7 separate regions of the Homo sapiens genome follow, and regions 1, 2, 3, 5, 6 and 7 are each linked to region 4. Evidence: promoter capture Hi-C in 16 types of primary human blood cells and fetal thymus (Javierre and others, 2016). All regions are on one chromosome and are shown on one strand. Each heading gives the region's core, a stretch centred on a gene start or on the middle of the fragment in contact. The rest is flanking DNA. Distances are from core to core; before and after follow the strand shown. Region 1 overlaps HEATR5B (HEAT repeat containing 5B). Region 2 holds the start of EIF2AK2 (eukaryotic translation initiation factor 2 alpha kinase 2). Region 3 has its middle 2.1 kb from the start of CEBPZOS. Region 4 holds the start of SRSF7 (serine and arginine rich splicing factor 7). Region 5 overlaps PRKD3 (protein kinase D3). Region 6 holds the start of STRN (striatin). Region 7 overlaps CEBPZ (CCAAT enhancer binding protein zeta).

Region 1 (3,076 bases), core at 284-2,783, 1.7 Mb before region 4:
AATGAAAGCATATGTTTGTGCAAAAACTTATATACAGATGTTCACAGCAGTTTTTTTGTAATAATCAAAACTAGAAGCAACTCAAATGTTTATAACAGGTGAGTGAACAAATCAATGTGACATATCCATACAATGAAATACTACTCAGCAATAAAAAGGAATGAACTATGGATACATATAACAACATAAATGAATTTCAAAACAATTATACTAAGTGAAAGAAGCCAGAATACACATACACAAAAGTACATCTCATGATGTGATACTATTATATATAATTCTAGAAAATGAAACTAATCCATTGGAACACAAAACATAATTTAAAATTTTAAAAGAAAAAAAAATCGTTGACTGTTTAAGAGCAAGAAGGATAAAGAGCAGTATTCTAAATTGGTCGAGTACTAACCTTGGCCACTGCACATCGAACAGCCATTGACCTATCAGTCAAGAGAGACCTGGCATTCTTGTAAATATCACGATGGGAGGAAGCTGCTGCACCACCCAGTCCACTTAGAACTTTCTGTAGACTCATTAAGATTTCACTTCGCCCTTGAGACTAGACATGTATACAAAACAAAACTATTTTGTAAAATAAATTCCATATTTAAACAAGAACACACCAAGACAAAAGTTCTTTGGGTCTAATGGTCTTACCTCCAAATTATAAACGGTAAATAATGAAAAGTACAATAAAATTAAGTATTCTAGAAAGTACCTGGCAAGTAAGAATAGTCAATTAAATAATATCTTTCTAAAAAATTAGGTTTTAAGTAAATATATTCCAATATTTCTATGAATTACTGAAGTACATACAATATAATGAAAACATGAAGAGATTCAAAAGCTTCAATATCATATCTCAATATATAAAATATTTCAGAACGTAAAATATTAAGTAAAAAAGTTGAGAAATAATATATAAATGATCCAAAAAAGGAAGCAGAAAACATCCAACACATTTAAAAAAACATGTCAGAAATACAGCAAACCTTCATCTTCTTGTGACTAACTCAAACTGTTATATCCATATTCTCATAGTGCTTATTGTTATTTCTGATAGTATACTCATCACAGTGTATCACAATGCTTATTCACACTTAGCTCTCTTCCACTAAACTGTAAGTTCTTTGAGGTCAGGACCATCTTTGTATGTTTAATGCCTGACAAATAATAAGTCCTCAATTCTTTTTTAATGAATGAATAGACAAATAGTTCCCAGAAAAGGTATCCAATTCTAATCCAATGACTGGTATCACTGAACAGGGAAATAATTTAGACACAAAACACAAAGGGACAGGAAAAAGGTGATGTGACAAAGGAGACAGAGATGGGAGAGATGCATCTACAAGCCAGGGAAGATCAAAGATTTCCAGCAACCACTAGAAGGTAAGAAGGAAAGGAAACATTCTTCCCTAGATCCTTCAGTGGAAACATGGCCTTGCTGACACTTTATCGCAGACCTCCAGCTTCCAGAACTGTGAGACAATAAATTGTTGTTGTTTTAAGCCACCCAGTCTAAGGTAATTTATTACAGTAACCAGGAAATTAACACATTAGCTATGGCACCAAAAAAAAGAAAAAAAAAAAAGCCAATCCAAAAGTACCATAGGACTAAATAAAAAATAACAAGTAAACCTATTCCTTGTCAAAGAAAAGCATTCTTTCCCTTCCCCCTGATATACATTAAAAGAAGGGACAAGTAATAATTTGTAATTACCTCCTTGCTAAGCAATATGAGACCACAGTGACAGAAAAAGAAACAAACATATTTTAGCTGACATCTAACTCTTGCCACAAGCAAATATTCAAATAATATTGGTTGTAAAACTTACCTCTGCACTTTTCAGAGATTTCAATAGATTATTTACCGTTTCTGGAAATGCGCTGCCCAACATTCTCCCCATTTTTTCATAAAATGCTCCGACACAAGCCACCGCAGCCCTGTAAGAAGTGACAACTTCACTAGTCATTGTCCAGGTTAATGATACAATTATACTTTTCTCATTTTTAGAAATCAATTTGCATTTGTCTAGGACACTTTTGGCTATAATCCTTAATTTCAACTATCAAAAACAATTTATGCTTCATAACTGCAACAAATACTATACTCTATTTACACTGTATTCTTGTTAAATACTATAGTTAAATTGTATTCTTGTTAGGAATACAAAAGAATCTATATATGTACATAATAAATCATACCCATTCTTTGGGAAGAAATCCAAGCTTTTCTTTTTTTTTTTAGGGGGAGACAAAGTCTCACTCTGTCACCCACGCTGGAGTGCAGTGGTGTGGTCCTGGTTCACTGCAACCTCTGCCTCCTGGGTTCAAGCCATTCTCCTGCCTCAGCTTCCTGAGTAGCTGGGATTACAGGTGCATGCCACCATTCCCAGCTCATTTTGTATATTCAGTAGAGATGGGGTTTCACCACGTTAGCCAGGCTGATCTCGAACTCCTGACCTCAGGTGATCCGCCTGCCTCGGCCTCCCAAAGTGTTGGGATTACAGGCGTGAGCCACAGCGCCCGGCCCCTAAGCTTTGCTTCTATGAAGACTTTCCAAATTATGTCAAGCCTCAACAATCCCTCTCTTCTTTCATTATATGTAACACTTAATGTCAATCACTGATTTTGACAAAATTATATCATTTACTGTGTTGTAACTTGACCATTTTATATGTCTCTATCTTGTCCTGCCAGTGGAAATGTAAACTCCAGAAACGGAATATAGCTCACATATTTGCATTGCTCACAGTGTCTACCTCTTAATTTACAAATAATACTATACTATTAGTAAACCTGTAAAATTTAATCTAAATTACATTAACAGAACACTTGGAAGAATAAAGTAATAATAGCAACACACTTCTTCAGGAGCAAGAAATGACCCCAGTGTCACTTAGGTCAATAGTAAGTGAATAGCTGTGGGTTTAGCTTAAAGGCAAAAGTAGGACATGGTGGTTAAGAGCGGATGCTTTGGAGTCTAGCAGACCTGTGCCTAAATCCTAGAACCTACCATCTAATAGCTATGTGTAGTTGGATCTTGGAAGTGGGCAGGTGGTCTACCATGAGGCGAGTC
Region 2 (3,353 bases), core at 629-3,128, 1.6 Mb before region 4:
TCAAAAGCACGCTTCCACCATGGACTCTCTCCTGAACTCCCAACTGCCTCTGTCCAACCTGCTCCCTCCTAAAATGCCCTTGACTCTATTCCTTCTGCTGTCTTGGCCTGGTCAATTTCTACTTCCTACAGATTTCAGCTCAAAATCCCAGACACTCCTTCACAGGCTCTTCCACAGTGCTCATCCCCTTTATTAAAATTGCTTATTTAACTATTTTCCAAAATAGAGCATGAATTACTACAGGTAAGGGACCAGGCTCAATAATGAATGAGTGAGTACCAAAATATCTCCAGATACCCCATCCAGGACTTGTCACCTGCTTTTCTCTACATTTATAGTGCAATATCTGCATTCTCTCTGTACCCACCAATATCCACTCATCTATCAGGATCAACACAGCCTTCTTTGATGCTGGAGGGTCAGCTAGTATGGGCTTGCCACTCCACCTTGCCCAACCTTCAACACAGCCCTGACTGCTTTTTAAACTAATTAGTGAGCTCTTTGGGGAGCAGATTCTACATCTTATTCACTCATCTGGAAGAAACCTCCATCATAATCACTAAAAAATAATATTTGTCCATCTTACTAATGCCCAGAAATTATTTTGGCTATGCCTCCACTTCCTTTCCAGCAGACTACATACAGCCTGGCCAACACGGTGAAACCCTGTCTCTACTAAAAATAAAAAAATTAGTTGGCTGTGCTGGCGGGCACCTGTAGTCCCAGCTACCTGGGAGGCTGAGGAAGGAAAATCGCTTGAACCTGAGAGGCAGAGGTTGCAGTGAGCCCAGATCGTGCCACTGCATTCCAGCCTGGCGACAGAGTGAGAATCTGTCTCAAAAAAAAAAAAAAAGAAAAGAAAAGAAAGAAAATGTCACCAGGTGATAACTACTATGTTGACAACCGAAGTAGTGGAAGGGGGAACAGCAAGGGCAGAGCGGGGTTTCTTGTATAGGCAGGTTGTTTGAGGAAGGCTGCTCTGATAAGCTGGCATGGGAAGCAGTGCAGGATAAGGGAGGGATTTCCCCATGCAGTTATCTGGGGAAGAAGCTTTCCAGAAAGAAGAAACAAGCAGTGCAAAGGCCTAGAGGCTGGAGGATGCTTGGCTGTGCACCAGGAACAGCAAGGAAGCCAGCGTGGCCGGAGTAGGGGGTGCGAGGGGCCTTGCCTGTGAGCCTTAATAAATGTTTATAGGATTCTGATGAGACAGGAAAGCTACGGGGAAGGTCGGAGCAGGGGAGAGTCTGGTTCTTACTTAAAGGAACATTCCAGATGCTGAGGTGTGGAGAAGAGGTAGGGGGTGGAGGTTCAGGGGTGAGGATACGGAGTGGGAACAGGAACTGCGGCCAGGCAATTGGGAAACTACTGCAACTCTCCACGGAAGAGATTTTTAGCCAAAGATTGTTCAGCCAGTCTATGAGTATTTCAGGCCTCCGTATTTTCCATGTGTCAAGCCACTAGGCCTATTCGTCTTCCACTAGACCCCGCCCCACAACTGCTGCCTGGGAAATATTTGTTACTTGCACTGATAAAAATTCTTCACGGGAAGGAAATGGCTTTCAGTCCCCACCCCGCTCCACGATCCTTTCCCTGGATTTGGGGAGGGCCCCACACCCGGGCTGCGGACCTGGGCCTGCTCTCCCAGTGCTGACCCAGCCGGGGCCAGGGGCTTCGGATCAGCGTCCGCGTCCTGAGCTGGGGACGCAGGATTGGCGAGTCCCGCCCCGGCTGGGCCTGCAGCCCCTCGTACGTGGCCCCCCGGCCCCCGCTCCCCGCGCTCCCTCGGCTGCCCCCTGCCCTGCTCACCTGCGCCGCCGCCGCCGCCGCCGCCGCCGCCGGCCGGAGACCCGCGGCTTCGGGAGAGCTGGTTCTCAGTTTCGTTTTCCCCTTGGACTCCGCCTTCCCTGCAGCCGCCCGGCCCCCTCTCGCACAAGCCCTCGTCTGCTACGGGATTGGGGTAAATTGGCGCTGGATCCAGAGTGCGCGCGAGAGGCACTGGCGGGCGGGCTTGGCACCGGCGGGCGGGCTTGGCACCGGCAGGCGGGCTTGGCACCCACGTGCTGCCCCTGCACGGCCAGGACCCTGCACCCCCATCCCCCGCCCCCGGGGCTCCTAGGGTTCTCCGCTGGCCTAGTCCGCTGGCCGCACTAGGTTCTCGAATCAAGGGTTCCACTTACTCTCAACACAAATATTTGGGGTGGGGTTGGGAAGATGGATCTTACCAGCTCCATTCTACAATAGAGGAAACTGAGTAAATGAACTCACCCAGGGGTCCTGCCGCTCGTAAGTGGCAAAGCCAGGATTCAGTTCAAGTCGGGGCCTGTAAACACCAAAGCACTCTTTCCCTCTTGCCACACCGCGGCCCCCTCACCTTTACAAGCCTGGGGATCAGAGGCCTGGGGGCGTAATCTCCTTCACTCCGCTCCCACCCATCCATTCATTCATGAGCAGACACTTGCCAGCCGCTGTAAAAGCACCTGTGGGCCAGTCCTGCTGCTAAATAGAGACACCTGCTTCCTACAGTACCCCAGGGAGCTTCCTACCATAGTCCAACACCAGTAGTCCTCGATTTATAGAAATTCTACTCACCTGATGGACTGCGACACACTCCCAGAGTCACACAGAGTTCCAGAGTTCATTGGCACAGTGACTAATGAGTATTGAGGCACAGAGAATTTGGATTAACACAGGTAGTAAGCAGCGGAGTTAGAATTATAACCAGGAGTTTGTACTCTCAGTATCTTAGCTGGGATAAGAGAGGAAGGTGGTCCAAAGACAGACCTCAAATATACATTAAATATTATGCCTAGGCCGGCGCGGTGGCTCATGCCTGTAATCCCAGAAATTTGGGAGGCTGAGACGGGCGGATCACCTGAGGTCAGGAGTTCAGGACCAGCCTGGCCAACATGGCAAAACCCCGTCTCTACTAAAAAACACAAAAATTAGCTGGGCGTGGTGGCAGGCACCTGTAATCCCAGCTACTCCAGAGGCTGAGGCAGGGAGAATTGCTTGAACCTGGGAGGCAGAGATTGTAGTGAGCTGAGATCATGCCACTACACTCCAGCCTGGGTGACAGAGTGGGACTCCAATTCAAAAAAAAAAAAAAAAAATTACACCTAGGCAGGCATCCTCTCCAGCCTCCCTTCTCCATCCCCCAACAACCCCACATTGCAGGGTATCAACAACTAAAATCTACACTTTCCTTGTAGCTCTGGTCCTGGGCATAGCTTAAGTCCCCTATATGTAAAGCACTGGCGGGAGGTTTAGAAGGTAGACATGAGGCAGAGCCATCTTTTTGTGGCATTTCCAGGTGACAAGAAAACTCTGACAGTGCTGTGTGTCCATTTGTCAGC
Region 3 (2,940 bases), core at 216-2,715, 1.6 Mb before region 4:
TCTGAGTTGTCTGGCAAGCATAATGGAGGGAGGATACCAGCCGTGAATAATTACAGAATAACCTGTATCGTGTGATATGTTTGAACTGTCATACGTATGAGTCCAGGTGGGTCTCATGTTATATGAAGTCCTAGCTTCTTTCAGCTCCTTGTGTCTTACCCATATTGGAGATAAATTACCGCAGACCTATCAGGCTTTGCCAGCTGTGGCCTGGCTCAAGCCCCAGAGGCAGCTGCATGGGAGGCTTATTTAAAGTTTCTTTCCGCCTGGGTGTGGTGGCTCACACCTATAATACCAGCACTTTGGGAGGCTGAGGCAGGCGGATTGCTTGAGCTCAGGAGTTTGAGACCAGCCTGGCCAACATGGTGAAACTCTGTCTCTACTTAAAAAAAAAAAAAAAAAAATTGCCAGGTGTGGCGGTGCGTGCCTGTAGTCCCAACTACTTGGGAGGCCAAGGCAAGAGAATCGCTTGAATCCGGGAGGCAGGGCTTGTAGTGAGCTGAGATCGTGCCACTGCACTCCAGCCCGGGTGACAGAGTGAGACTCTGTCTCAAAATATAATAATAATAAAATAAAGTTTATTTCCTTGGCATTAAAGACACCATGCCCTCTTACCTTCTTTTCCTTTGTTTTTTTCCAGTCTATAGACATTTACCAAAAAAAAAAGAAGAAAAAGAAGAAGAAGAAAAAGAAGAAGAAGAAGAAGAAGAAGAAGAAGAAGAAGAAGAAGAAGAAGAAGAAGGAGAAGAAGGAGAAGAAGGAGAAGAAGGAGAAAATATGAAAAGAAATGTCTAGGCTTTAAGGTGAAGATGGGAGAATGGACAGCAAACCTAGTACATATTTGTTAAAGTGGAGGTCCCTATGGCCACTACAGAAGACTGGGATTTTAGCCTGCTTCTGTGCTTTGGAGAGAACTAGCACATCTTTCTAGTCATTTGCATCCCTCTACCAGAGTTAGTAAATCAGGCTAGGACCAGGAAGGCACTGTCGCTAAAGGACCCTTGGTAAAAGTTTCTACTGGAGTCTACACTTTTCCTGCTCCAAACCTTCTGGCCAAAATGTGTCTTATCTCAAAATGTCAAGCTTTGTGCAATATCGTTATTAGTTTATATATATTTTCCTGCAGAAATCATGACATTTCTATACAATTATTTTAGTCTTTCTTATAATTTCTGTTTTTTCGTGAAAGAAATTTTATATTTATATAGTTATATTTGATGTAGTTGAAGATTCAGTGGTTAGTTCTCATCCACATTGACTGTCTGTAGATTTTTTTTTTTTCGAGACAAAGCCTTTTTCTGTCACCTAGGGTGGAGTGCAGTGAGATCTTGACTAATTTTTTGTATTTTTAGTAGAGACAGGGTTTCACCATATTGGCCAAGCTGGTCTTGAACTCCTGACCTCAAGTGATCTGCCCATCTTGGCCTCCCAAAGTGCTGGGGTTACAGGCATGAGCCACCGTGCCTGGCTGACTATCTGTAGATTTTTGAAAGTGGTAACAGGTACATAGGTAATCAAAGTACAGAGCTTATTTGGTGAATCTTCATCCTCATTACATCCTCTGGACAGCTGCACGCGGATACGGTACGGGACATTCCTTATTCCTTTGGCAAAGACAACTTTATTGAGCCTGGTATCAATGCACACATCTGGAGTTCCCATCTCCTTCATTGCAAAATTTCCGGATCTCTTTGAGTGCCTGAGGGACATGCTTCTTGAAGCCCACTCTGTGGATGTGCTTGTGAATGTTGGTGTATTCTTGGGTCATCACCTCGTTGATGGCAGAATGGTCCATTTTCTTCTTGCCACTGTTCTTTGCAGGAGCCATTCTGCTAGGCCCAAGTTGGTAAAGCTTGTTATCATTTCTTTAAGCTTTTTTTCTCCTCTTTTCTTTTTTTCAATCTGAACCATTCCAATGACCTTTTCTTCTTTCTCCTTCCTTCCTCCCTCCCTCCCTCCCTCCCTCCCTCCCTTCCTTCCTTCCTTCTTTCCTTCCTTCCTTCCTTCCTTCCTTCCTTCCTTCCTTCCTTCCTTCCTTCCTTCCTTCCTTCCATTTTTGAGACACAGTCTTACTCTGTCGCCCAGGCTGGAGTGCAGTGGCACGATCTTGGCTCACTTTAACCTCTGCCTCCTGGGTTCAAGCAACTCTCCTGCCTTAGATTTCCGAATAGCTGGGATTACAGGCATGCTCCACCTCACCCAGCTAATTTTCATATTTTTAGTAGAGATGGGGTTTCTCCTTGTTGGCTAGGCTGGTCTTGAACTCCTGACCTCAGGTTATCTGCCCACCTTGGCCTCCCAAAGTGCTGGGATTACAGGTGTGAGCCACCGCACCAAGCCCCAATAGCTTTTTCATCTTGCTTTGTCATCCTGGTACTTTTAACACTGATATTCTGGTATTTCAAACCAATGTAGTGGAGCCTTGCTATATGGTCTGAAAGTTTTTGTTCTCCCTAAATTCATATGTTTTTCACAATTTATGATGCTTTAGTTACACAGATGAACCACATGGGCTGGACTAGGGGTGGGGCGGGTGTTAGGAAAATTGGGGCAATCACAGAGCACCTTGCAGAGGCACTTCCTTTACTTGGCGTGGACAGAGTTAGCTCCAGCTATCACCCCTTCTCTAAAACCTTTACAGATTCCTCGGATTAGAAGCAAGGCCCTTATCATTGTGTACTTTCCATCAGTTATTTGTGGTAAATACCCCTAACTAGACTAGAACTTCGATGAAGGTAGATCTGTGCCTGTTTTGGGTGTTCCAGGCTTTGTCTTGCACACGGTACTTCAATATACTTTTATATTCTTTTTCTCTTCTCTGTTTCCATGTCCCCTTCGCGCTTTCTCAAGTGTTACTTTGCAAACGAATTCTTTAGGGATCTGGCTAAAATGCAGTTTCAGATTCAGTAGTTCTGCATTTTTTTTTTTTTGAGACAAAGT
Region 4 (3,119 bases), core at 269-2,768:
CCCTAACTCCATCTCCGCTATCTTCTTTAACCTTCGTGTGCCTTTAGCATTTAACACTATGACCAGCTATTTAAGGTCTCTTCCAGACTTCAGAATCCAAATTTAGCACTAAGTTCATTATCTAGCCACAGTATATTTTAATGAACAGAAGATTCATAACATCTTACTTACTTTCCATCCAGTCCTCGTACTGCATCTTCTGCATCTCTAGGATCTTCGAATTCCACAAAGGCAAATCCTGGAGGATTTCTCGCAATCCATACAGTTCTTAAAGGACCATAATAACTGAAAGCCCTTTCTAACTCTCCTTTGCCAGCGCCAGTTCCCAGGTTACCAACATACACCTTGGTTTCTGTTTAAAAACGCAAATAGAAGAATGCACGTTACGCAAAATCTGGCCCAAGTTTCAATTACTTATTTGCCTTAAAACGGGCCATCCTCAAGATTGGGTAAAGCACATTTAATGCCCTCTATCCAAGACAAAACTTAGTCGTAAAACTGGTGAAAGTCCGCAAATCCCTGAGAAACTAGACTTTTGACAAAATTCTTAACGTTCTAAATAATGCGGGGTGACCCTCCCGAACACAAGCAGAAACGCGTGGTAGGATACACCGAGGCGTGGGGCGGAACCTGGCCCGGCCCCACCCATGAGTCCCGGCAGCCCCGGGCGCACCGGGAGCGCGCGGGCCCGCAGCGGCAGCGGCGTCGGCGGCGGGAGGGCCTCGGTAGGGGCCGGGCCAGGAGAGCAGGGCTGCGCCGGCTCTCGTCCTCCGCGGCAAACGTCCCAGGCACAGGCTCGCCCAAGACTCCAGCTCCCCGCCCCAGAGCCATAAACCGCGCTGGAAATAACTAAAAAAAACCCAGCCGCCAGTCGCAGATTACGTCCCCATTCCCATTCCGCAATTTAACCGATTGTTTGACGAGAACATGCAGCTCACAGCTGCCAATTTCGTTCTATCTCAAACACAACCACGATCTTACAGCTGCGGCCAGATCTGTCCGCTGAAGTGGCGGGAAAGCGCTGAGGAAATGCGCCACCACGGTCCTCAATGTGCGCAAAATGGCAGCCGCCGCCGAGGGCGGGGGGGGAGGGGGGCCGGCGGGCAGCTCCGAGAAAGGCAACGCGAAAACCGTCATCTCAACCCTGCTTTAGGCTGGATTGGGCCACAAAAATGCCCAAGAGTACGGAACTCGGCAGAGATGTACACCCGCCATCCCGTCTCCCTTCAGCACCCCGCCTCCGCTGCCTCCGGCTTCGTCTGGCGTGCTCCTAAGCCGCCATTACGCACGCGGAATAACCGTCTCCCAACCTCCGCGACAACCCTACGGCCTCGCAGTGCTCACTACACCCACACCAACGTCCCTCACCGGACTCCAGCTTCTTACCTCCTCCGTACCGCCCGTAACGCGACATGATGACAGACCCGCGTGCTCGGCTCTTTAGCAAGCAGCGCCCAGGGCTCGAGTGACGCAAAAGCTGACACACACCTTCACCCGCCAAGAGTCCCGGCGGCACTACGAGGAAGAGCCCGGGTTCGCGTTTATATATGCGGCCGCTGCGCTTTGCGCATGCGTCATCTCGTTGTTCTGCGCGGCACAAAGGAGCTGGGCGGAAACAGCCAAGAAACGACGCGGAAGGAACTGAAGAGACTAACACGCGGGTCATGGGCGGAGGGATACGTTTCTATGGGAACGCCACGATCTCTCCAGTAAACCTGAGGCCTTCCCCATGCTGTCCCGCCCCCTCCTCTCCCCGTTTTCTACACCCTCCTTGTCTTCTTTCCCGTCTCCCTACCCTCTGCCTCCTTTCGTTTTTCCCCAGGCTAGGGACCCTCAGCCTTAACAATCTTAGTACGGATGCATTAGACCGGCCTATGAAAGGCTGTACAATTTAACCGCTGATGTTGCAGCCGTCGCGCCCTTCTGCTGGGGGACCTGGCCTAGTCAGCTACTCTGATCTTTGGGGCTCATCAGAGGTAATCGAAGGTTTGGCCATGGTGAAAAGTCCATGAACCCCGCCATTCTGAGTAGTGGTTTTTACACCATAGACCTTGACGCACCCTGGGACTGGTGGTAAAGCCTCCTGTCCTACACGCCCCCTCCAACTTCTTTTGAACCAGTCACCAGTTTGCACCACCACGGTCTGAGTTCTTGGAGTCTGAAAGACAAAGGAATAGAGCTGTGGGGTCCCGCTCCCCCCTCCCCCCTTTATATTGAAATTGTGACAAAACCCTGAATGTTTAAAGCATTTTGGCCAGTGACAATTTGGAAATTATTTGCATCTGAAGCTCAAAGTAACTGATTTGCTTTTCCTAATGCTTTCTGCTTTGTAACACGTGTGATCCACCAATACTCCGATCCTGAGGACTGGGACTCCTAAGTCATCTTTGTGTATCTCCACTCAGTGGAAATAGCAGCCTTGCTGCTCAGCCACTCAACAGTACCAAATAAATGCAAAACTTCTTTACATTAGAATTGCTCTAGACACCAACTACAAATAGAGAAAAAGTTCTTTTTTGCTAGAAACATAGACATTACATCGTAAATTCTTGGAATACACAAAAGTTGGAAATGTACATAAAAAAAGACATTTAGGTATTTGCATTTTTATCTTTTTCGTCTTTTGCAACTTCATTTGGTGAGTATAGGTGTGGAATGGAGAGTACAGGGAAAGCAGGCCTAGTTGGTGAATAAAGCATGGATTCTTTCCAGGTCATGCTATGATTTTATGCATATTTTTTACGTTGATTAAGTTATGGAGAGAATTAATCTCTCTCAGGAAGATCTCTAAGAAGAAAATAGAAGCTCTGTAGAGTATATGTGTTCTCCCTTAGTCTTGGTGATTTTTTTCTTAACAAGGTTCTTCTCAAAAGAAACAATAATTATAAAGATCTATAGGTTCTTCTCAAAAGAATTAAACAATAATTATAAAGACTATATAGGGGCCAGGCGCAGTGGCTCACGCCTGTAATGCCAGCACTTTGGGAGGCCGAGGCGGGCGGATTGCCTGAGCTCAGGAGTTTGAGACCAGCCTGGGCAACACAGTAAAACCCTGTCCCTACTAAAATACAAAAAATTAGCCTGGCGTGGTGGCGTGTGCCTGTAGTCCCAGCTACTCC
Region 5 (3,331 bases), core at 257-2,756, 1.4 Mb before region 4:
ATCAAAAAATTAACATAAACTTAATTGATAGTAGTTTTCAGTCATTTCTAGATTACCACTGGCTAATTCTAATAAATCTTCAACAGAGAGGGACCTCGAAGTGTAATAGCTCAAGTTTTCTTTTGAGTTTGGAAACCACTAAGATCAGATTAATACATAATAATATTGATTAGCTAGCATATACTGTGTGATTACTATTTGCTAAGTATTGGGCTAAGCATTTTAGAAACATATCATTTAATATACACACACAATGATGAGAGATGAGTGCTACTTTTAACCTCATTTTTCAGACAAGGAATCAAGATTACACAACTAATAAGTGGTAGAAATGAACTCCAGTTTAACCCCAAAACTAATGGTTTTAACTATAACACTATACTGCTTCATATTAATTCCTTCCTTTATTTATTCAACCAAAGAATATTCACTGAGCACCTACTGTGGCCATGATATCTGGCATCATAAAGCTTAGTTTTATAGTGGATACAGTCAAGAAAAGAGACAATTACAATGAGCATTATGAATGTTAAAATACAATGTGTTGGATAGGATGCCAACATCCATACAGAAAAAAACTTGCTGGAGGTCTAAGCAGAGGATGTGGCAATGAAAGGGTGTTCAAGGCTAGTTAAAAGATAGAACATGGCATGTCTGAAGCTTAGGAAAGGAATCTGGACCAGAGATCAGAGATTGATCAGCATTATTTTGTAAGTAATCTTGCAATAATACCTTATACATAAGCAATCACATATTTCTGTCACCTGCTCATTGCTGGCAACTACACGTCTGTCCAGTTAACTGCTGCAGAGTGAAGAGGGCAGAGATTATCACGAATTTCTTGAATAACTAATTCTAACACAAATAAAATTTAGAGCACCACTAGGAAGCAGAATCACAAAACTTTTTATCTGACCAAGCAAAAGAAAGCAGACTCTATATGTGCATAAAGAGACCAGTATCTGCTGTCTCACAGACTAGTGAGGATGTTAAAGGTATCTTGCTTTATCCATGCTACAAGCTATCAAAGTAGTAGCATGGCATTGTACCAGCAAAAGCTTATTTCTCCAGGTGAAGTACTACAGTTGGTGATGGCAAGCAAAAAGTAGGATTGAAAATATGATTTCATATTTCCAACAAGGTGACAGCTCTCCTTCCTGAGTCATTTTATCATATTGTACCTTTATTTCAGGACTTACATCTACCTTATATTAGGGCAATTTGACATTTGCTCATCTTCTTTTCTAGAGCATAAATCACAGGGGCAGGGAATTTGTGTTTCATCTTGGGAGCTTCCACAGTTATCTAGCACAGTGACTGAAGAGTAGTGCACCATAAATATTTGTTCAACTGAAGCAAAGCCATAACAGATAATGGCACCCAGGTGTAGGATAATTGTATAACACTATTTAGCTCTCTGCAAACTGCCACCAGGGAGACTGAAAATCTACCTAGAATTTGCAATTATCACATTAACCTATAATCAGCTGCAGACCTCTCTGAAATTTTTAATTTTAAGAATTTTTTTAAAGTATATTTTCAGTATGTGGAAAATAAGATGGCACTCACGGGACAAAATATACAATTTCAATATTTGAAAAAATGTATCTTCAGATTGTTACTTATCTGGTCCTTAGGCTTATCAAATTTCCATTAGACTAGAGGTTCTAGACTGTGGCTCTCATTAGAATCATAGATAGAACTCTTAAACAGACTCCCACTCCCAAAGGACCTGATTTAATTGGTCTAGGAAGGACCTGTTTAACCTCCTAGTTACTCTCCAGTGCAGTCTGGGTTGAAAACCACTGTTACAAATCAAGTCCACATTTAAAATGCATATAACCTTGCAACTACATGCATCGAGTTTGTAAACATCCTGATCCTTGTAACATGTGGCCTATTGTAAAAGATTTTTTAAAACTAGGTTTTTTTCTTTTTCCATAAATATGACAAAACAAGCTTTGAACTTTTGCCTATAATTTTTAAAAAAGCTAACCAGGAAATGCTCAATGATAAGAGTAATCAGAAAATCTTGTGGGCTGTTCAAAAGCAGACTGGTTAAGATTTTGTTGGGAAAAAATAGACACAAACATAGCAATAAAGCCTGCATTTGTCAAAATATATGTTATGAGTTTATTCATTTGATTATAACTATTTCATCAAAAATTACTGAATCGTGGAAATATCTGACAAGGAGCTTGGTTCACACCCCTTCAACTTATTTCCAATAGTAGGCTGGGAGTGAAAAAAATTTAAAACAATGTATTATTTCAAATGTGGTCATGGCACAGCTCAGAGGCAAACACAGCTTTTCTATCGTACTACATATTTCAAGTCAAAGTCTTGTTATAGCTCTGCCTTCTTGTTCCAGCTCTTATAGTGTAAATAAGAGTCCTTTTCACAGTCTATTTAGTGCCATATTTTCTGCATTTTTTTCATCTTTTGTTAGTGACTCTTCTGTTTAAAATGGCTCCCAAGCACAGTGCTGAAGCAGTCTAGTGTTCTCAAGTGCAAAAAGTTTATGATGTCCCTTATAGAGTAACTACACGTGTTCAATAACATTCAGGTATAAGTAACAGCGCTGTTAGCTGTGAGTACAATGTTAATGAATCAACTATATATATTAAATAAAGTGTCTTCAAACAGAAACACATAAAACAAGGTTATGTATTTATTGGTTGACGAAAATGTGACCAGAGGCTTGCAGGAACCTATCCTCCCACTAGGAACAAAGGTTCCACTAGGTCCTACTAGGAGCAATCGTTCACTATTAGCTAATTCAGTGTTCTCAGTGACTTTACAGAATATAACTACTATGAATAACAATAATTGACTGCATGTAGAAATAAAATATAAAAATGACAATAGGAAGAAAATAGAAATATACTGTTCTAAGGTATATATTACATTATAAAGTGCTATGATATTGTTTGAAGATACTCTGATCAGATGCATATTATATAAACTAGAACAGGGATTTCCAAACATTTTCTGCAACAGGCCAAACAGTAGTATTTTAGGCTTGGTGGGCCATATGGTCTCTGTCACAGCTACTCAACTCTGCTGCTGCAGAACAAAAGAAGCCACAGACAAGATATAAAGGATTGAGCACCCTGTGTTCCAATAAAACTCTATTGACAACAGGTGGTGGGCCAGATTCGGCTTATGGATACAGATTGCTGACCCCTGCATTAGCGGAATTGATGAAAAAAAAAAAAACTGTAAAGAGTATAATTAACCAGCAGTGGAGGTACTATGGAATTATATAATGTAATTCAAAAGAAGGCAGAAAAGGACCTGAGAACAGAAGGGACAAATAGAAAACAGCCAA
Region 6 (3,063 bases), core at 441-2,940, 1.8 Mb before region 4:
AGGGCAGAAGCTTGGTCGGTTTTCTTTCAACACAGGGCCTAGACACACAGCTGGCACTCAATACACAGGTGCTGAATAAAATACATGATAAAACTGAAACCCAGAGAGGTTAAAGGATTTCCTCAAGGTCACAGAGCTAGCAACAAACACAGCCCTTACTATAACCTTGTCTACTACAGCCTTGTGTGTTCGCTCTTTCCACAGCCACTTCCACTACACCAGAGCCTGTTCCAGCACATGATTCTATTTAACAGATTTCTCCTCTTCTTTTTTTTCTTAAGCGCCAAATACATGTTACCAAAAAAAGTGACACACTGGGTAGCATTTTAAACTCAAGTGTTTTGCCAACTAAAACTATACTCAAATTTCATAAGTATACAGGCTTAGCCCGTAAAACAGAAAGGCACAACTATTCATAGTTCTTTAAGTTCCTTTTGAAATTGGTGTGTATGCCCTGGAAGTTTTAAGAACAACCACTGAAAACCTATTCACCAATTCTGAATGGCTTGTAAAGTATCAGCCTCACTTTCATTCTTTTCAGAGCCCACAGTTATCTCCTCCCTGGATATACTTTATCTTGCAGATTATGCAAGGCAATGTAACTAACTTCAAAGTCCCTTTAGTTCCTTTTAAAGCACAAGAAAATCTCCCAAAACACTGAACATAAAATTAACCCTTGGGAAGTTTCAGATTCTGAGAACAGGAACCACCTCTTAACCATTCTCTCTGACTGCGATCATCTAGGTCCTTCATTCAAAATGCATTAATTGGAAATACCTAAAAGAAACGTGGGAGGGGGCCGGGGGGTCGGAAGAAAGTGGAGAACAGACATTTACATATATAAAAAAAGGGATCTGATATATGAATAACACTTTTGCCCAACGTCAACTTCTCGCCTCGACTCAAGGCCTGACACAACTTCTGTTGTCTTCTTGATCACCTTCCTTGAAGAGAGGGGCCAAAGCCGGCACGTTCTGCGGAGACTGTCTCTAGACCTAGGAAGGGGCACACCAGGGCAGCGGACGATTTGCTCCGCGTCTCTCAAAACTACTGCCAGCCCAATTAGTAAACCGAGAGGGCAGCCCTGAGATGCAGGATGGCCAGAGAGTTGAAATGAGTCTGGGAGTTAAGAGTGGGATGGGGCGGACGAACAGGCGTGGGGAGGGTAAACAACGCACCAGGAGCGGGAGTGAGAACAGGGTCGAGGTGGGGTCAGCGAAAGGCAAAAGGCGAAGAGAAGAAGGGGACGGGGCTCCGGGTGGGATGGGCGGCAGCAAAGGGGGAGGGGACGCGAGAAGGCTGGGGGAGGGGGAGAAGGGTCCGGGGCGGGGCGGAAGGGAGCAAAGAGGCGGGATGAAGACGGCCAGGCCGGGAGGGTCTTTACCTGCAGCTCCGCCCGCTCCACCTCCCACTGGGCTCTCTCCACCTCGAAGCGGGCCCACTCGTGCTGCAGGAAGTGCAGGATCCCCGGGAGACTGTACTGGGCTCGGGCCGCCCCCGCCGCAGCCGCCCCGTCGCCGGCCGCGGCAGCCTCCGCCAGAGGCCCGAGCCCCTTGGCACCGCCGGCGCCCGGGTGGTTGTTGCTGAAGAAGACGCCGGGACCCGCCTGCTCGTCCATGGCGGCCGCAGATACCCGGGGAGCTGCCCCGGCGCCCAGCAGCGGAGGCAACAGCGGCGGCAAGCAGCGCCTCCTCCTCCCTCCGCCGCTCCCGCCCACACCCCAGTCAGCAGGGAGCAGCCTCCTGGGCGCGGGGGCCGGCCGAGCCCGTGACGGGCCGGGAAATGGGTCAACTGCGGCGCGCTGGCGGCCCGGGGCTTGCCGGGAAATGTAGTCGCGGGGCGGGGCGCGGGCTAGCGCGGCCCGGGCGGCCTGTAGGGCTGTGCCTCAGCTTGGGCGTGGCCTCGGGCCCGCCCCGCCCCGGCTCGCCGCGTAGGGGGCCGGCTGGGCGGGGAGAGCGGGTTTCCTCTGGGGCCGGCTGGGCGCGGGCGGGCGGGTCTCCAGTCTTCCTCGCACGCGGAAGTTCGCGGGCGGCGCACCCTGTTGCATTCAAAAACACACACACACACACACACACACACACACGGAAGTTGTCACGCCAAGATACCTGCCCGAGCTGCACATCTTTTAAGGCTTCCTGGCCGTTCTGTGAAGGAACAGGCTCAAAGCGAGCTACCCGGTGCGGCCGCGGGACCGGGGTTCTCCCGCCAGCTGCCCTGCGTGCTCTCGCTTCGGCTTCGTGTTCGGAGTTTCTCTCACCCTAGACGCTCCTCCATTCTGCCAATCTGCGGGTCGCTGTCGCTCTTGCCTTTCTCTTTTGACTCGAGGGGCTCAAACCTGTTACCTGACCAGTTTTCATTTCTAAGGAACGCCGATCACCTTTCTAAGACAACGCCGCAGCTTTCTGCTGCTGCTTCCAAATTGTGGTTTGTTGACAGCCCATCTGAAAAACTGCTCCGTTGAAGTTTCTTTCCCTTTGCAGTCCTCCTGCAGTAAATCCTGTAAAAGTTTTAGCATCCAATAATAGATGTTCTGTTATTTCGGTCTCATTTTTCCTATCTTATTCCCGCTGATTTTTACTCTACTTAATTGAACAAATATTTTGATTATCGGTTTTCTCTTGCGCTGGGAATATTAAGATAAATGACATCGTTTCTGTCATCAAAGATTGGCGTATAATCAAATATCACAAAGGCTTAATTTAAAAGCTACACCACCTTGAAAAAGCAAGTTCCCTTTCTGCTCCCTAGCGCGGTCTTAGATATCCTGGCCCCTCTCCGTTTTCACTTGTCCTGTTCCCAGTTTCTTTCACGATTCACCTGCCAACTGGCAACAGCATCCGCCTACCAAAGGTACACCAAAGTCCTTTCAAGTTACTCTCTGTAAATATTTGCCTTCTCCGAAGTCTGACAATATGTCACTATAAATTCACACTACAACAGTGGCAAAAAGGAAGGCCCCTGAAAACAATTTAACAAATGCAAATGAAATTAAGCACTTATTTTGTCACCCTAACAAGTTATCTGAAATTCTTACGTTTTGTAGGACGTACTTGTGGGTTATCA
Region 7 (2,895 bases), core at 202-2,701, 1.5 Mb before region 4:
GTCATGAAATCTACAGCAAGTGGACCTGGACTTGCCACCTAACTTGGTCTCTTAATATCTGTGTGACCTTGCCCAAATTATTGTATCTCACAGTGTGGGGAAAAGGAAGAGAGATCAGATTGTTACTGTGTCTGTGTAGAAAGAAGTAGACATAGGAGACTCCATTTTGTTATGTACTAAGAAAAATTCTTCTGCCTTGAGATTCTGTTAATCTATAACCTTACCCCCAACCCCGTGCTCTCTGAAACATGTGCTGTGTCCACTCAGAGTTGAATGGATTAAGGGCGGTGCAAGATGTGCTTTGTTAAACAGATGCTTGAAGGCAGCATGCTCCTTAAGAGTCATCACCACTCCCTAATCTCAAGTACCCAGGGACACAAAAACTGCGGAAGGCCGCAGGGACCTCTGCCTAGGAAAGCCAGGTATTGTCCAAGGTTTCTCCCCATGTGATAGTCTGAAATATGGCCTCGTGGGAAGGGAAAGACCTGACCGTCCCCCAGCCCGACACCCGTAAAGGGTCTGTGCTGAGGAGGATTAGTAAAAGAGGAAGGAATGCCTCTTGCAGTTGAGACAAGAGGAAGGCATCTGTCTCCTGCCTGTCCCTGGGCAATGGAATGTCTCGGTATAAAACCCGATTGTATGCTCCATCTACTGAGATAGGGAAAAACCGCCTTAGGGCTGGAGGTGGGACCTGTGGGCAGCAATACTGCTTTGTAAAGCATTGAGATGTTTATGTGTATGCATATCTAAAAGCACAGCACTTAATCCTTTACATTGTCTATGATGCAAAGACCTTTGTTCACGTGTTTGTCTGCTGACCCTCTCCCCACAATTGTCTTGTGACCCTGACACATCCCCCTCTTCGAGAAACACCGACAGATGATCAATAAATACTAAGGGAACTCAGAGGCTGGCGGGATCCTCCATATGCTGAACGCTGGTTCCCCGGTTCCCCTTATTTCTTTCTCTATACTTTGTCTCTGTGTCTTTTTCTTTTCCAAATCTCTCGTCCCACCTTACGAGAAACACCCACAGGTGTGTAGGGGCAACCCACCCCTACATCACAGACTGGAGAGCTGTTAAGAGGATTAAACTAAAGAAACATGGATGACTATCAGTAATAAGGATAGCCGCCAACATTTCACATAGCACTAAGTGTTAGGCACTGTTAAGCACTTAATATACATAGAAAGATTACATGGGTTAACACACATAACCTCCCAACCTTCATTAAAGCCCCAGTTCTGTCATTTACAAGCTGTAGAACCTTGTGCAAGTTTCAAAATCTTCATAATAATCATATGAGATAGCTGCTTTTCTCTCCATCCTACAGACAAATCCACTTAAGCATGATAACATGGGATGAATTATGTCTACCAATAGGTTTTTAGTGGGGATCAAGTAATTTGCCCAAAATTACACAGAAAACTAATGGCAGGGACTCAAACCCAGGCGGCGTGGCTTAAGTCTAAGATACGAACCACTACTCCACATTTTCTCACAAGATATATCTATGTAAAAATATAAAAATGAATCAGAAGGAAATATATTAATTTCTTGAACACAGTTGCTATGTTCGACTGTCTCTTAAACAGCTCCAAACTGTTTACACATTGCTGAAAATATGATGCCTCAATGGGTGAGTTGCAAAATTCAGTAAAGAAAATCTTCATCTCCATTAAAAAACAACAACAAAAAAAACCCTGCACCCTGCATCCCCCAAAACTCTCTACTTAACATACTTTGTTTACCACCGCTCCCCTCTCTGCCACCTCCTCCAATATGAATGTGAGCGCCTCCAGGGGTGGGATTTCTGTTCGCTGTGCCTCCTGTGCACCTAGAGCATGGCACCATACTGCAGGCACTCAGAAAATACTTGTTGAATGAGTTACTGTGTGAATGCATTCAACTGTGTGAAAGACAGCAGGGAAAAGATAGAGGACTGAGGAGAATGGGAAGACGGAAACTGCAATTATATCTGCAATTTTATTTCTTTAATATCCCAAAAGATTTAAAACAAATATAGCAAAATGTTAATTCTGAAATACTAGGTGGTAGATATGAATGAATCTTTTGGGTATTTTTCTGTATTTTACAACCTCTCAAAATGAAAAATGTATTCAAAGCATCTAATATAATTTGTGCCCATCAGGGAAACAAAGATTAAGTGACTTACTTGAAGGTGGCGAGTAGCAAGCTGCTGAGGGGGCCTAAAACCAAATTTTCTAACTCTTTTTCTTGCCCCACAGAGGGCACTGCTTGTGCTGTACTACATCAAGTTATTATTTCATGTCTCATATTGGAAGGGTATGTTCTTACCTGTATAATGCTGTGTAATATCGATCCGATATTGTCTGCTGAGAATTCATTACTTGGAAAAGCAACATTAAAGCCTGGACACTGGTATTAAAATTCACAATATGCAACACTTTAAACAGTGTGTCAATCTGCTCCCTTACTTTGTCATCACCAGTCTGGGAATAAGGGTATGCCCTATTCACACCTGTTAAAAGGGCGCTAAGCATTTTTGATTCAACATCTTTTTTTTTGACACAAGTCCGAAAAAAGCAAAAGTAAACAGTTATTAATTTGTTAGCCAATTCACTTTCTTCATGGGACAGAGCCATTTGATTTAAAAAGCAAATTGCATAATATTGAGCTTTGGAGCTGATATTTGAGCGGAAGAGTAGCCTTTCTACTTCACCAGACACAACTCCTTTCATATTGGGATGTTTACAAAGTAATGTCTCTAACAGATGGGATGCTTTTGTGGCAATTCTGTTCTGAGGATCTCCCAGTTTATTTACCACTTGCACAAGAAGAGCCTTTTCTTCCTCAGGCTTGTTACAAAGCAGCTCATGAGCCACGGTAAGGGCTCGAGTTTTAGTGGTTACT

What was found. Contacts are between HindIII fragments. The CHiCAGO score rates a contact against its expected background, and 5 or more counts as called.
Region 1: a fragment that was not itself captured here is called in contact with the fragment with the promoter of SRSF7 in region 4 in 1 of 17 cell types (monocytes); the score reaches 7.7 in monocytes.
Region 2: a contact is called between the fragment with the promoter of EIF2AK2 here and the fragment with the promoter of SRSF7 in region 4, in 1 of 17 cell types (activated CD4 T cells). The highest score is 7.6, in activated CD4 T cells.
Region 3: a fragment that was not itself captured here is called in contact with the fragment with the promoter of SRSF7 in region 4 in 1 of 17 cell types (monocytes); the score reaches 6.2 in monocytes.
Region 5: a contact is called between a fragment that was not itself captured here and the fragment with the promoter of SRSF7 in region 4, in 1 of 17 cell types (total CD4 T cells). The highest score is 5.1, in total CD4 T cells.
Region 6: the fragment with the promoter of STRN here is called in contact with the fragment with the promoter of SRSF7 in region 4 in 1 of 17 cell types (neutrophils); the score reaches 6.4 in neutrophils.
Region 7: a contact is called between a fragment that was not itself captured here and the fragment with the promoter of SRSF7 in region 4, in 2 of 17 cell types (naive CD8 T cells and total CD4 T cells). The highest score is 7.2, in naive CD8 T cells.

The regions. Positions count from the first base shown.
Region 1 is chr2:37,075,079-37,078,154 of GRCh38, forward strand. HEATR5B (HEAT repeat containing 5B) reads right to left here. Exons shown (of 36, transcript NM_019024.3): 4 at 1,833-1,941; 5 at 407-556. Among named protein-coding and RNA genes, the nearest start is that of HEATR5B, 7.8 kb to the right of the region's middle. The HindIII fragment of the contact is 1,382 bases long and covers 843-2,224 here.
Region 2 is chr2:37,155,102-37,158,454 of GRCh38, forward strand. It overlaps EIF2AK2 (eukaryotic translation initiation factor 2 alpha kinase 2), which reads right to left and starts at 1,879. Exons shown (of 17, transcript NM_001135651.3): 1 at 1,807-1,879. RefSeq lists silencers at 1,669-1,788, 1,989-2,178 and an enhancer at 1,809-1,938. The HindIII fragment of the contact is 2,417 bases long and covers 1,049-3,353 here.
Region 3 is chr2:37,192,910-37,195,849 of GRCh38, forward strand. It overlaps a transcript of SULT6B1 not described here and the pseudogene RPL31P16. Among named protein-coding and RNA genes, the nearest start is that of CEBPZOS, 2.1 kb to the right of the region's middle. The HindIII fragment of the contact is 769 bases long and covers 1,082-1,850 here.
Region 4 is chr2:38,749,843-38,752,961 of GRCh38, forward strand. It overlaps SRSF7 (serine and arginine rich splicing factor 7), which reads right to left and starts at 1,519. Exons shown (of 8, transcript NM_001031684.3): 1 at 1,387-1,519; 2 at 172-352. The coding sequence starts at 1,414. RefSeq lists silencers at 604-793, 1,004-1,103 and an enhancer at 1,964-2,023. The HindIII fragment of the contact is 14,475 bases long and covers 1-3,119 here.
Region 5 is chr2:37,310,132-37,313,462 of GRCh38, forward strand. All of the region lies in intron 2 of PRKD3 (protein kinase D3), which reads right to left. Among named protein-coding and RNA genes, the nearest start is that of PRKD3, 13 kb to the right of the region's middle. The HindIII fragment of the contact is 901 bases long and covers 1,057-1,957 here.
Region 6 is chr2:36,964,846-36,967,908 of GRCh38, forward strand. STRN (striatin) reads right to left here and starts at 1,691. Exons shown (of 18, transcript NM_003162.4): 1 at 1,385-1,691. The coding sequence starts at 1,618. RefSeq lists a silencer at 1,372-2,181. The HindIII fragment of the contact is 8,803 bases long and covers 9-3,063 here.
Region 7 is chr2:37,225,225-37,228,119 of GRCh38, forward strand. CEBPZ (CCAAT enhancer binding protein zeta) reads right to left here. Exons shown (of 16, transcript NM_005760.3): 2 at 2,320-2,895. Among named protein-coding and RNA genes, the nearest start is that of CEBPZ, 4.9 kb to the right of the region's middle. RefSeq lists an enhancer at 655-1,259. The HindIII fragment of the contact is 4,440 bases long and covers 1-2,895 here.